Linked DNA regions of Homo sapiens: all the other regions are linked to region 3. The links are contacts of gene promoters, found by promoter capture Hi-C in blood cells and fetal thymus (Javierre and others, 2016). All regions are on one chromosome and are shown on one strand. The core of a region is centred on a gene start or on the middle of the fragment in contact, and the rest is flanking DNA. Distances in the headings are between cores, read along the strand shown. Region 1 overlaps PPP4R3B (protein phosphatase 4 regulatory subunit 3B). Region 2 overlaps CCDC88A (coiled-coil domain containing 88A). Region 3 holds the start of CFAP36 (cilia and flagella associated protein 36).

Region 1 (3,815 bases), core at 468-2,967, 72 kb before region 3:
TAATTAACTGAGAAATTATATGAGAGTACTTAGCATAGTCAGTGGCTCCTAGTATGTGTGCTAATACATGTTGACAATATCTTAAGCATGATAGGGACATAAGACTTTAGTGACTCCAAATGTTCTAGCTAATTGCAGATCAAAATCCCCTGTGCCCAGAATTGAGCAACATTCTTTTAAAATATTTTAGAAATTATTTATTTATTTATTTTGAGACAGAGTCTCGCTCTGTCACCCAGGCTGGAGTGCAGTGGCGCCATCTTGGCTCACTGCAGCCTCTGCCTCCCAGGTTAAAGTGATTCTCAAGCCTCAGCCTCCTGGGAGCTGGGATTACAGGCAGCAGCCACCATGCCTGGCTAATTTTTGTATTTTTAGTATAGACAGTTTCACCATGTTGGCCAGGCTGGTCTTGAACTCCCAACCTCAGGTGATCCACCCGCCTCAGCCTACCAAAGTGCTGGGATTACAGGCATGAGCCACTGCCCCCAGCCAGAAATTAAATTTTTGAAAGCAAGTAAAATGAGATTATTTCTGCACAAACAGTTATAGAATAAGATCCTTTTCAGAACAAAGTTTTAATTTCTCTCCTTACTAGAAATGATGGAGGATAGGAATCTCAAATGTTGACATTTTAACACATTTACATATATTATATTATATACATATTTCTGCTATTCCATAGGTAAGAGTTAAGCTTAAAATTAGCCCAGCAGGATTAGCGGTTTAGTTCTCTTTTTAACATATTTTGCAGATGCTAAGGTTTTGGCACGGAAAGAGAAAAATTTCTAACTTCCCATCCCAGTTACAGATTAAGTATGTAAAATCTTCAGATACTCTTTAAAAAACTGTTTAGAGTAATAGGGCTTTTCATTTTGTTTTTAGGATTTTTCTTTGGATTCAAGTACAGGATTTAATATATTAAATTTTATCTTACTAGATTTGGCCCATTCCAGCTTTGTGTATCTTTTGCTTTGGTTTGATTCATACGTTTGAAGTTTGAAATACTTGGAAACCTGTCTTGTGGTTTACTTAGTAGGAGTGACAAAAACCTCATTAATTATTTGGGAGGCCTGGATTCTAAATCCATCTGTCACTAGCTACCCTCAGAAAGGTTCACTTTTTGAACCTCAGTCTCTTGAAATTTAAAATTGGACTTGACAGTCTCTGTAATGTTGCAAAATCTGATTTAATTCTAAATTTCTGTGTTTATATGTTTCTAAAAATGAATGGGTTCTGTTTTTTCTTTTGTTTGGCCTGTATTTATATTACTGCAAAGAGAAGAGTTTGATTTAGACTGTTTAGAAGCAACCTCTTTTTTTCCCCACAGTGTTTTTTTATGTTGTCCAGAAAAGCAGCCACACAAGTTTTGACTTAAATATATAGGTTTTATTAAAACAAAAGCTGTTAAAACCAAATAGAAAAGAAAAACTAAAAGAGATTAGTTTGATTACTTGGAGAACCAGAGATTTTGGAGTAAGTATTTCAACTATATGATAGGCTTTAAGTTATTGATTATTTGCTTCCTTCATAAATATATTGGAACAGAGTGCTTTTATAGCTTAATGAATAATAGCCAGAGTAATGCTGGAAATCAGGGAAAAAATACTAGGAATACATATTCTCTTAATGGACTGTAATAATTGAGATTGCCTCTATCTGTAATATTTTATGCAGTTCTACTTATCAGCTCACAAGTACCGAATCATATAAGAAGAATTCAAGTGGGAAATTGCATTTATCAAGGAGTTGGAACTTTTTTCTTATGAAAATATTTTGAAAAAATTAAATTTTCAGGTAGTAAAGGATGAAGATGTAATCTACAACAGATGCAGGAAAATAGAAATTTATAAAAGGTGTGAATGGAGGTAAATATGTACTTACTCACCCTAACCTAAAATATTAAGACTAAAAGTATTTGGAAAAAGTAGGCTGGGCATGGTGGCTCATGCCTGTAGTCCTAGCACTTTGGGAGGCTGAGGTGGGAGGATTGCTTGAGGCCAGGAGTTCGATACCAGCCTGGGCAACAAAGTGAAACCCCCCCATCTGTACAAAAAATTAAAAAAAAAATAGCCAGGTATGGTGGCACGTGCCCGCAGTCTCTGTTACATGGGAGTCTGAGGGAGGAAGATTGCTTGAGTCCAGGAGGTCGAGGCTACACTGAGCCACGTTTGTACCACTGCACTCCAGCCTGGGCAACAGAGTGAGACTCTAGAAAAAAAAAAAAAGGAAAAACTAACTTGAGGGCTAAATAAAAGATTACATATGCATATAAACTCCCTCAAAAGATGGATGTTCAGGCTGCAGTGCATAAGGTCCAAAAGGAGTCAATGAAATACGAAAAGAAACACCTGAGTCAGACTAATTAAATGACTCAGACACATTCTGAGTCAGACTAATTAAGTGATTCATCTCCCAGTGTCTTGTCTTTGAGTAGCACCAATTGATTTTTAGTAGAAGAGCATGTTATACTCTCTGATTGTACCTAGTGGTTTCTATTCATTTTTTAAAAATACATGTTCCACGTTATTTCAAAAAGGATTTAAGGGATTGATACCATTTAATGGATGATCCTCAGTAAGAAAAAGGACAGGTAGTTGGGGTGTATCCTTTAAATGTTAGGGTTTTATTTTACTATCAACTCTACAGATACTATTGTTACAAACTTTTTTAGAACATGTTACTTTAAATTAATGGAAATTACATTTCATAAAAATGAATTTTGAAGATAACTGAAGCTTAAAACCACCAACAATTTCCATCAGTTTTTTTAGCAGATTTTGATGAAATCTCTAAGGTGAATTTTAATATTTTTGCCCATTTTTTCCTTTGTAATTTAGTCTGTGCTTATTGTAGAAAATTAGAAAATATAGATAACCAAAAAGAAAATCACTCATAACCTATCACCAATTAGAAAATATAGATAACCAAAAAAGAAAATCACTCATAACCTATCAGCAAGCAGTAACCACAGTTAACAGTCTAACCGGTACTCCTAGACTTTAGACAAACAAATTTATTTATTATTATTATTTTGTTGTTGTTGAGACGGAGTTTCACTCTTGTTGCCCAGGCTGGACTGCAATGGCGCAATCTCGGCTCACTGCAACCTCCGCCTCCCAGGTTCAAGCGATTCTCCTGCCTCAGCCTCCCTAGTAGCTAGGATTACAGGCATGTGCCACCATGCCTGGCTAGTTTTGTATTTTTAGTGGAGACGGGGTTTCTCCATGTTGGTCAAGCTGGTCTGGAACTTCCGACCTCAGGTGATCCCCCCGCCTCAGCCTCCCAAAGTGCTGGGATTACACGCATGAGCCACCACACCTGGCCCACAAATTTATTTTTTAAAAATGCGTGCTTGACTATATATATATTATATATATATAATATATTAAATATATATATAAATATATATATAATTATATATATTTTTTATATATATATAATTTTTTTTTTTTTTGAGATGGAGTCTCGCTCTTTTGTCCAGGCTGGAATACAGTGGCACAATCTCGGCTCACTGCAAGCTCCCCCTCCCGGGTTCACGCCATTCTCCTGCCTCAGCCTCCCAGGTAGCTGCCACTACAGGCGCCCACCACCATGCCTGGCTAATTTTTTTGTATTTTTAGTAGAGACAGGGTTTTACCATGTTAGCCAGGGTGGTCTCGATCTCATGACCTCGTGATCCGCCCGCCTCGGCCTTCCAAAGTGCTGGGATTACGGGCGTGAGCCACCGCGCCTGGCCACTTGACTATATTTTTCTGTTTGTCCTTTTAGACAACGCCTGTAGAAATTAGCACTTGTCTTTCTTTTTAATACCCCAG
Region 2 (3,751 bases), core at 1,020-3,519, 120 kb after region 3:
TAACCCTTAATGGTGGTGCTGTTTACCCAGTTAATTATTTTTCATAAAGCAAACATTCTGGTTTATGCACATTTAAAGTTAGATACATAAATTAGTTATTTCAGATGTATCATAGTGACATGCAAATATTACATAGTTATGTTATTTTATAAATTATCTCAAAAATTTATTAAAAGACCACACTACAACCATAGTTTTAAGTTACAGTGCCATGATCAAAAACCACCATCAGTTAAGCACCAACACAGAACAGATGGTCCAAGAGGACATACAACAGGTTTACATTCTGGAGGAGAAGAGCATAGAGCCATTAAAGCTATCAGATTTCTGTTTCTTATATATATTAGTTAATGAATAAGTAAAGATATAATCCTTGATCATACAAGGACCAAATCTCAGAGTATTAGCGTTGCAAAATTGCTAACTTTAACTTCATCTTTTTTCCTGATTTACAAATTTTTATATACAGTGGTTGATAATACTACTGTCCGTTTATTATTTTAATTGAAATTAATGCAACTTGTCATAAGTAGATCATTTATAAATGTGAAATTGCTTGAGGCCCTCTTTTACTGCCATGTTGCATTTAACTCCTGGTTGGACAGATTTGAGCCATATTGCTAGGCTATTTGTCACTAAAGCATTTTTTTAGTTTTCATCTTATAAAGAAGATGGTTGACTTGAAATTGTGTTGCCTTGGAAATAGCTGTGTGTGATTGGAAAGGTACTTGCTCACGTTTGACATGTCACATGTATATTGTTCAGTAGCTCATCTTTTATTTTAGAAAACGGCCTTTCCAAAGATACATTCTTTAGAAAAAAATGGTATAGTATGCTTTCAAAAAGAGCCTGATAAAAACTTTATTAATTGTGATTATTCTGAATTAATTTTTGTTTTGCATTTTAAGTATTAAAATGAAAGGCAGAATATTTGGAATATTTAATAGACTACATTTTCTCTTTAGAGAATTCTGTGAGTCATACTTAATAGACTACATTTCTTTTTAGAGCATTCTGGAGTCATACCATACTGTTTGTTTAAATTACTGTATTGTGATTTTTATTATATTAAAAGTAATAGAATACAGGATTCAACCTGAGGAAGCTGATAAAAACACACACACACAGGAATGAGTGTTTTTTCTGTCTTTATATAGGATGCATTCTTTTTATAGAAGAAATTTTTAATACTGTTTTCTTTTCTTATGGTTTATGCTTAGTCTCACAAATGTCTTATGACTCTGAATTCCTGACATCGAATTCTATGCAGAGATAGCTTTATCAAATGTGCTTCAGCTAAGTAACAATCCAACACAATTATTAATATTTTTCCCTCAGGTAAATGAAATAGGTTTCATGAAACAATAAAAAGTCCTTAAAAAATGTTTTACGTGCTTAAAAAATTAATTAGTACCAAAAGGTTCACAGTGACAAACAAAAATTCTCTGCTGTATTTCTCCTCATATCTCAGTTCAGTTCTCTGGAGTGCCACTTTTTTTTTTTTTTTTTTGAGACAGAGTCTCATTCTGTCGCCCAGGCTGGAGTACAGTGGCGCAATCTCGGCTCACTGCAACCTCCGCCTCCCAGCTCAAGCAATTCTCTGCCTCAGCCTCCTGAATAACTGGGATTACAGGCACCCACCACCACGCCCAGCTAATTTTTTTTTTAATTTTTAGTAGAGACGGGGTTTCACCATCTTGGCCAGGCTGGTCTTGAACTCCTGACCTCATGATCCACCCGCCTTGACCTCCCAGGCATGAGCCTCTGTGCCTGGCCCAGAGTGACAGCTTTTTAAACTTTTTTAAAAGCAATTTCTTCTGTTATTTAGCCCATATATAGGGATAATGTGTCTATTCTGGTATTTCTTGATTTATTCCTTTTAGACATTGTCTATGACTTCCTGATAGTGGTAGATAAGATTTTATCTTTTTTATGCTCCTGTATTTCTTCTTACCCTATCTTTCTAATATAGTTAACACAGGTTTAGTTAAATCAGTCATCAGTATTTACATTATTATAACTATATAATATTTACTGCAAAGCCAGGTATTATTTTTCCGAAGCTACTAATTCTCTTGATTTGCATAATTTTCTATAAATTACCCTTAAAGAGTCAACCATTTTTCATGGAGGTGGAGCTTAGGACTTTTCTTTCTTTCTTTTTTTTTTTGTTAGGCAGGGTCTTGCTCTGTCACCCAGGTGGGAGTGCGATGGTATAATCACAGTCCACTGCAGCCTCAAACTCCTGGGCTCAAGCAATCTTCCTGCCTCATTTTTAAATTTTTTTGTGGAGATGAGGTTTCACTGTGTTGCCCAGGGTAGTCTTGAACTCCTGGGCTTACACAATCCTCTTGCTTTGGCCTTCCAAAGTGCTGGGATTACAGGCGTAAGCCATCGTTGCCAGCCCAGGAGCTTAGGACTTTTCTGGTAGTTTCACCTGAGGGCAGTCCCTCTCACCTAAAGAGATCACATCCTTAGGGTGAAAAGGCCTGTTTTCCGTGATCCTAACATGTGTCAGTATGGCCCTTACTCAAACTGGGCATGCATCAAATGGGAAACTCAAGCCTTATAATGGGAAGTTTATTGCTTTCTAGATCCATGCCGAGAGTGCTTAATGGTTATCCTGGGCTCTAAGTACAGATAGTTTATAGTAATAGATAATGATATAATATCTGATGATTATAAAGAAATAGGAACTTTTCAGTTCTGTTTTCATACTAAAATAACTCTTGAGTAGGTACAATGTAGAACAGAAGTTACAGATAGAGGTTTGGGGTGCTTAGGTATTAGCCTGTTCAAGAACTCCGCTATTCTATTGGCTTTCCTAGAGTCAAATCAGAGCATAGAAATCCCTTCACAGCCCACGTACTTATTTCATAGATTTGTAGACACAAAGCAGCACAGTTTTGTGAAGGGATATAAAAAATTTTCATTCACCTATCTTTAAGATCCCTTTTGATTGTGAGGTTAATTTTAGGTGTTGAAGTACTTTTCTCTCAAATATTTAAATTTTATTTTTCATTTTTCTTCAGATTTCTAAAATTACATCTGATATCATTAGTATATAACTATATAATTCCTTCCTTTTATACCCAGAATTATTTTAATTGTTAAAAGCAGTCTTTTGCAAAGTCTAAAAAAACTTAATATAAAACATTAATTTTTTTTACAAAAAATTCTTAAAAGATTTTGATTAAACCAAAATTCTAAATTCTGAAAACTTGCTAATTCTTGAAAGAGCTGTATGCAGCGACTGTAGAATTTCCTGACAACTGAATACATTTCAAGATATCATGTGAGGAATATTGGACACAAAATTTAAGAAGAAGCATTAACACTTTTTTTGAAAAAAATCACTTTAAAGGAAACAAACTTGACAACAACTCTGTCAGGGACAAAGATAGCATTTACATTATAAAATGTATTAAAATAATGATATTACTATATGTTCATTAGAATATTATGCATCCAAAGTATAATATAATCCAAATTATGCATTTGGATTATCCAAATTATGCATTTGGATAATCCAAATTAGTATAATCCAAATTGTATATTGTCATGTAGTAATGAGCTTGCACTACAAATAATACAGTTTTTAAATTTATATATATTTTTAGTTCTAATATTAAATTTTTCTTAGGTTGGACACGGTGGCTTACGCTTGTTGTCCCAGCACTTTGGGAGGCCAAAGCGGGAGGATCACTTGAGGCCAGGAGTTCGAGACCAGCCTGGTCTACATGGTGAAACC
Region 3 (4,324 bases), core at 1,825-4,324:
ACAAGACAGGCTGGGCAGTGGCTCACACCTGTAAACCCAACACTTTGGGAGGCCCAGGCAGGTGGATCACTTGAGCTCTGGAGTTCCACACCAGCCTGGGAAACACAGAGAAACGCCATCTCTACAAAATACAAAAAAATTAGCAGGGCATGGTGGTGCACACCTGTAGTCCCAGCTACTCAGGTGGCTGAGATGGGAGGATCGCTTGAGCCTGGGGAGGTTGAGGCTGCAATAGGCTGTGATAGTGCCACTGCACTCCAGCCTGGGTGACAGAGCAAGACCCTGTCTCAAAAATAAAAAATAAAAAAATCACATGACAACCATGACGAAGTGAATAATTAATATGTCCCTGGATGCGTCAACAAAATAAGAATAAGATATAAAGAATACATGCAAGAACCCATAAAGAGTTGTAAAACCATTCCTTAGAGTAGAGGAGATAAGTCATCCAAATGAGATATTCAGAGCACCTGTGGAGACAGATATAACTGGCACTATTGTTAAGGTAGATTGGATTTTTGTAAAATTAAGGATTTTTAATGTAAAAATATTTTTCTTCATTTAGAAAAGCTATAAGTAGTATTAGCCTAATTACTTTTAAAAATCAGTGAAAAAAAATACTCACTAGTTCTTTGTATTCCTGATGAATCTCTGTATAGGTCAATTTGCTTTCTTCTTCATCATCAAAAACTAAATTTAAAAGAAAATATTACATAGTGTAAAAACCAAATCATTTTATTAATGCAAATTTAAAAATCCACTCCTTCCAAATAGAACTGTCAACCTAGCTCTTCAGCTTTGAATTCTTAGGGTTTATCTTTTAAAAATATATAAATGAATATATCTAAAAATATATACTATTGGCCGAGCACTGTGGCTCATGCCTGTAATCCCAGCACTTTCGGAGGCCAAGGTGGGTGGATCACCTACGATCAGGAGTTCGAGACCAGCCTGGCTGATGTGGTGAAATCCCATCTCTACTAAAAATACAAAAATCAGCCAGGCGTGGTTGTGCGCGCCTGTAGACCCAGCTACTCGGGAGGCTGAGGCAAGAGAATTGCTTGAACCCAGGAGGCGGAGGTTGCAGTGAGCCAAGATTGCACCACTGCACTCCAGCCTGGGCGGCAGAGTGAGACTCCATCTCAAAAAAAAAAAAGAAAAAAAAATATACACACACACACACACACACACACACATATATACTATTAATTGTAAACAAGCTTTTTTGCCTACTTGAGAAAATATTTAAAATGAATACTACCTCATATTTAAGACAAAAACACATTTCAATCAATATGAGGCAATAATTTCTTCATAACTTTTAATGTAATATTATTGTTAATGGTTAAATCCTTTTACAATAGGTTCCATATTATTTTATTGTACTGGAATTTTGCTGATGTAAATGTTACTGAAAGTGACCAGGCAATTTTTGTTACCACAGATAAATAATGAAGTTAAATAAAATCAAAACAAGTGTTTACTGAATGATCATATGTATAAAACAATGCAGTGAGCCAAGATCACGCCACTGCACTCCAGCCTGGGCAACAGAGCGACACTCTGTCTCCCAAAAAAAAAAAAAAAAAAGGAGTACAAATACAAGTTATTTTGTTTTTGAACATTGTTAAAAAATTACCTGTAAAAATAACACTTTAATAACTACGATTTGAATATTGATTATAGCAATGAAAATGTAATGAAAAGATTCAGTGGTCAAACTGAATTTCATCTTTACCAGATTCATGATATCTTGGAATTTAAAGAAGTCTTAAAAGGTCATCCAGGATAACCGACCATTTGATAGCTGAATAGCTGAATCCCTCTAACCCTATTAAGTCGCTATCAGATCCATTCAAACACTGCTGGAGCCGGGAAGCTCATTACCTTCTGAGGCTGGCTAACTCATCTTGGATACATTCTATCATGAAACACTTCCTTCACTGAAATTTGTTTCCCTGTAGCTTGTACCAACTGACCCTAGCTCTATTCTACTCAACCTTACAACACAAAGCAGATGTTCAAATAATTGATGAATACTACTACCCTCAAAGTCTTGCCCGATTAAACAACCACAATAACGCTTGGGCACTCATTTATATGACGTGGTTTCTGGTTCCTTTTCTGCGAATGGGCTGCAAATAGTCTCCACGAACTGAATGCAGAACTCCAAGCCTGAAGAACTGCTCAGAACCCGGAGATGCCTGTCCTTCACGGGGAATATTATGCCATATCTATACGCCTCATTTGTTCCAAGAATGGTCCTGCCCCACCTCGCCAATTTTTGGTATAGCGAAGAGTAGAGAGCTCACCAAGGGGAACACAGGCCACCAAAATCACCGGCTCTGGGCTTCCTGGAGTTATCACATGCCCTCCTTTGCAGTTAACTGTTGGTTTGGAGTGAAATCATTTCTCATTTCCTAAGCTGACTACACCGGGCGAAATGCTAGGGATCATAAGGAACTCAGGTAAACCGACGCTTCTCCTCTCAAGTCTGGCAAAGCTGTTGAAGAAGCCCAGCCAAACAGTCCACCTGCCGAGGGCAGAAACGTTCGGGACAGGGTGAGAGACCGAATTTACGATTCAAGTCTAATGTTCTTCGGACGTGCGCTTCGGCCCCAGAGAAGGGGAGTCTCGGTCCCCGTTTTCAGGTCTGCGAAGGAACACATTGGCAGGGTGAAAGGAATTCCTCCCACACAACCAGCTCTAAACCTGATGACGCGGGTGGAGAAGGTGGTGAGGGGAACGAGACCTTGCGACAGGGGTGGAGACAGGGGGTCGGGGAGACGAGAGATGGCTTGTGGTTACCAACCCCCTGCCCGCCGCTGGTGTGAGAGAGGAGAAAAGGATTGTCGGTTCGGGCTCTGGTTTTTACCTTCACATTTCTGTTCCACAAAGTCCAAGATGGGGATGGACCAGTCTGGGCCTCGCAGGAACCCCGCGATGCTCTCCACTACCCACTCCACCTCGTCTTCTTCTTCCGCAGCCATCCCGCCCCAAAGGGGCAACGGGGAAGATCCCTAGGCCAGACCGCCGGACCCCGGTTAGGCCTTTGGGCCACAAGGAGCCGAGAGGGAGTAGGGGAAGAGCTGGCCCGCAGTCGCTCAGCCCCCAGGATAGAAGCTACCAACCAGTTAATGCAAAATGGTCGCTATGGCAACACACGTAGCCGCCCTAGACCGCGGCCCGGAAGTGAAGACAACTTTCCAGGAGCCTGCGCACTTAGCGGGGAGGGCAAACGTTTGAAAAACGTTTCTGATTGGTTAAAAAAGAACAGTGGACGAGGGCTGAGAAAAGAAGTGTAGCTATTGGCTGGAAGTCATAGACAGATTGCGCTCTCTCTTCTGATAAATGCGTAGGAGCCAAGGTTTAGAAAACGCGCAGTAGACGGGCGCGGTGGCTCACGCCTGTAATTCCAGCACTTTGGGAGGCCGAGGCTTGCGGATCACCTGAGGTCAGGAGGTCGAGACCAGCTTGGCCAACATGGTGAAACCTCGTCTCTACCAAAAATACAAAAATTAGCCTGGCGTGGTGGCGCCGCCTGTAATCCCAGGTACTCGGGAGGCTGAGGCAGGAGAATCGCTTGAACCCGGGAAGCCGAGGTTGCAGTGAGCCACTGCACTGCAGCCTGGGAGACTGCGTCTCAAAAGAAAAACAGGAAGAAAGAAAAGAAAAAAGAAAAGGCTCAGTGAGGGTCTGAGGTAACCGGGTCTCCACCTGACAGGGCTTCAGCGGCTGCAGTTCATCATTGTATCCCCAGCACCTCAGTCCCAACCATTTTCAGACCATTGGCCCAGAGGCGTTTGTAATTAAAGGGTTGTCTGAAAATACAAAGCCGAGCTGTGTGAGACTCGCTGATTGTCTTACGGTCAGTTTGCATCTGTATCTTCAGGCGGGTCTTTAATCTCTTACGCTTGGATAAAGATAACTAGAATTAGGAGCTTTTCAAGGGCAAGAGCAAAGTTAATACTCACTTAAATAAATGCCTTGGTAACCAAATCTTATTATAACTCCAACTCAGCATTTAGGTGGAGTCCATTGTGGAATGGGGTCTTCAGTGGTCATTGTGAAGGTGTTTGGAGTCCCAAAATATCTTCAGACAACCATATATATATATATATTTTTTACATAAATAGGATTATATGTACAGTTATGAATTTTTTTCTTATATCTTTATCTTTTAAAAATATAAATTTGTGCTTTCTTTGCAACTGCATAGTATTCCATAAACCATCCTTTAGTCTATTTTTATTTTGTGAATGTGCACACAGTATCTTACCTGAATGCATGAAGATGATCATTATGTGCCTTTTTTTTTTTTTTT

The links. The method cuts DNA at HindIII sites, captures the fragments that hold promoters and counts their contacts. A CHiCAGO score of 5 or more calls a contact.
Region 1: a fragment that was not itself captured here is called in contact with the fragment with the promoter of CFAP36 in region 3 in 1 of 17 cell types (M1 macrophages); the score reaches 5.1 in M1 macrophages.
Region 2: a contact is called between a fragment that was not itself captured here and the fragment with the promoter of CFAP36 in region 3, in 2 of 17 cell types (M1 macrophages and M2 macrophages). The highest score is 5.2, in M1 macrophages.

Annotation. Positions count from the first base shown.
Region 1 is chr2:55,589,555-55,593,369 of GRCh38, reverse strand. All of the region lies in intron 4 of PPP4R3B (protein phosphatase 4 regulatory subunit 3B), which reads left to right. Among named protein-coding and RNA genes, the nearest start is that of PPP4R3B, 26 kb to the left of the region's middle. The HindIII fragment of the contact is 2,041 bases long and covers 697-2,737 here.
Region 2 is chr2:55,397,286-55,401,036 of GRCh38, reverse strand. All of the region lies in intron 2 of CCDC88A (coiled-coil domain containing 88A), which reads left to right. Among named protein-coding and RNA genes, the nearest start is that of CCDC88A, 21 kb to the left of the region's middle. The HindIII fragment of the contact is 5,201 bases long and covers 1-3,751 here.
Region 3 is chr2:55,518,468-55,522,791 of GRCh38, reverse strand. It overlaps CFAP36 (cilia and flagella associated protein 36), which reads right to left and starts at 3,074. Exons shown (of 10, transcript NM_080667.7): 1 at 2,876-3,074; 2 at 626-690. The coding sequence starts at 2,990. RefSeq lists enhancers at 2,294-2,543, 3,724-3,773. The HindIII fragment of the contact is 7,670 bases long and covers 1,223-4,324 here.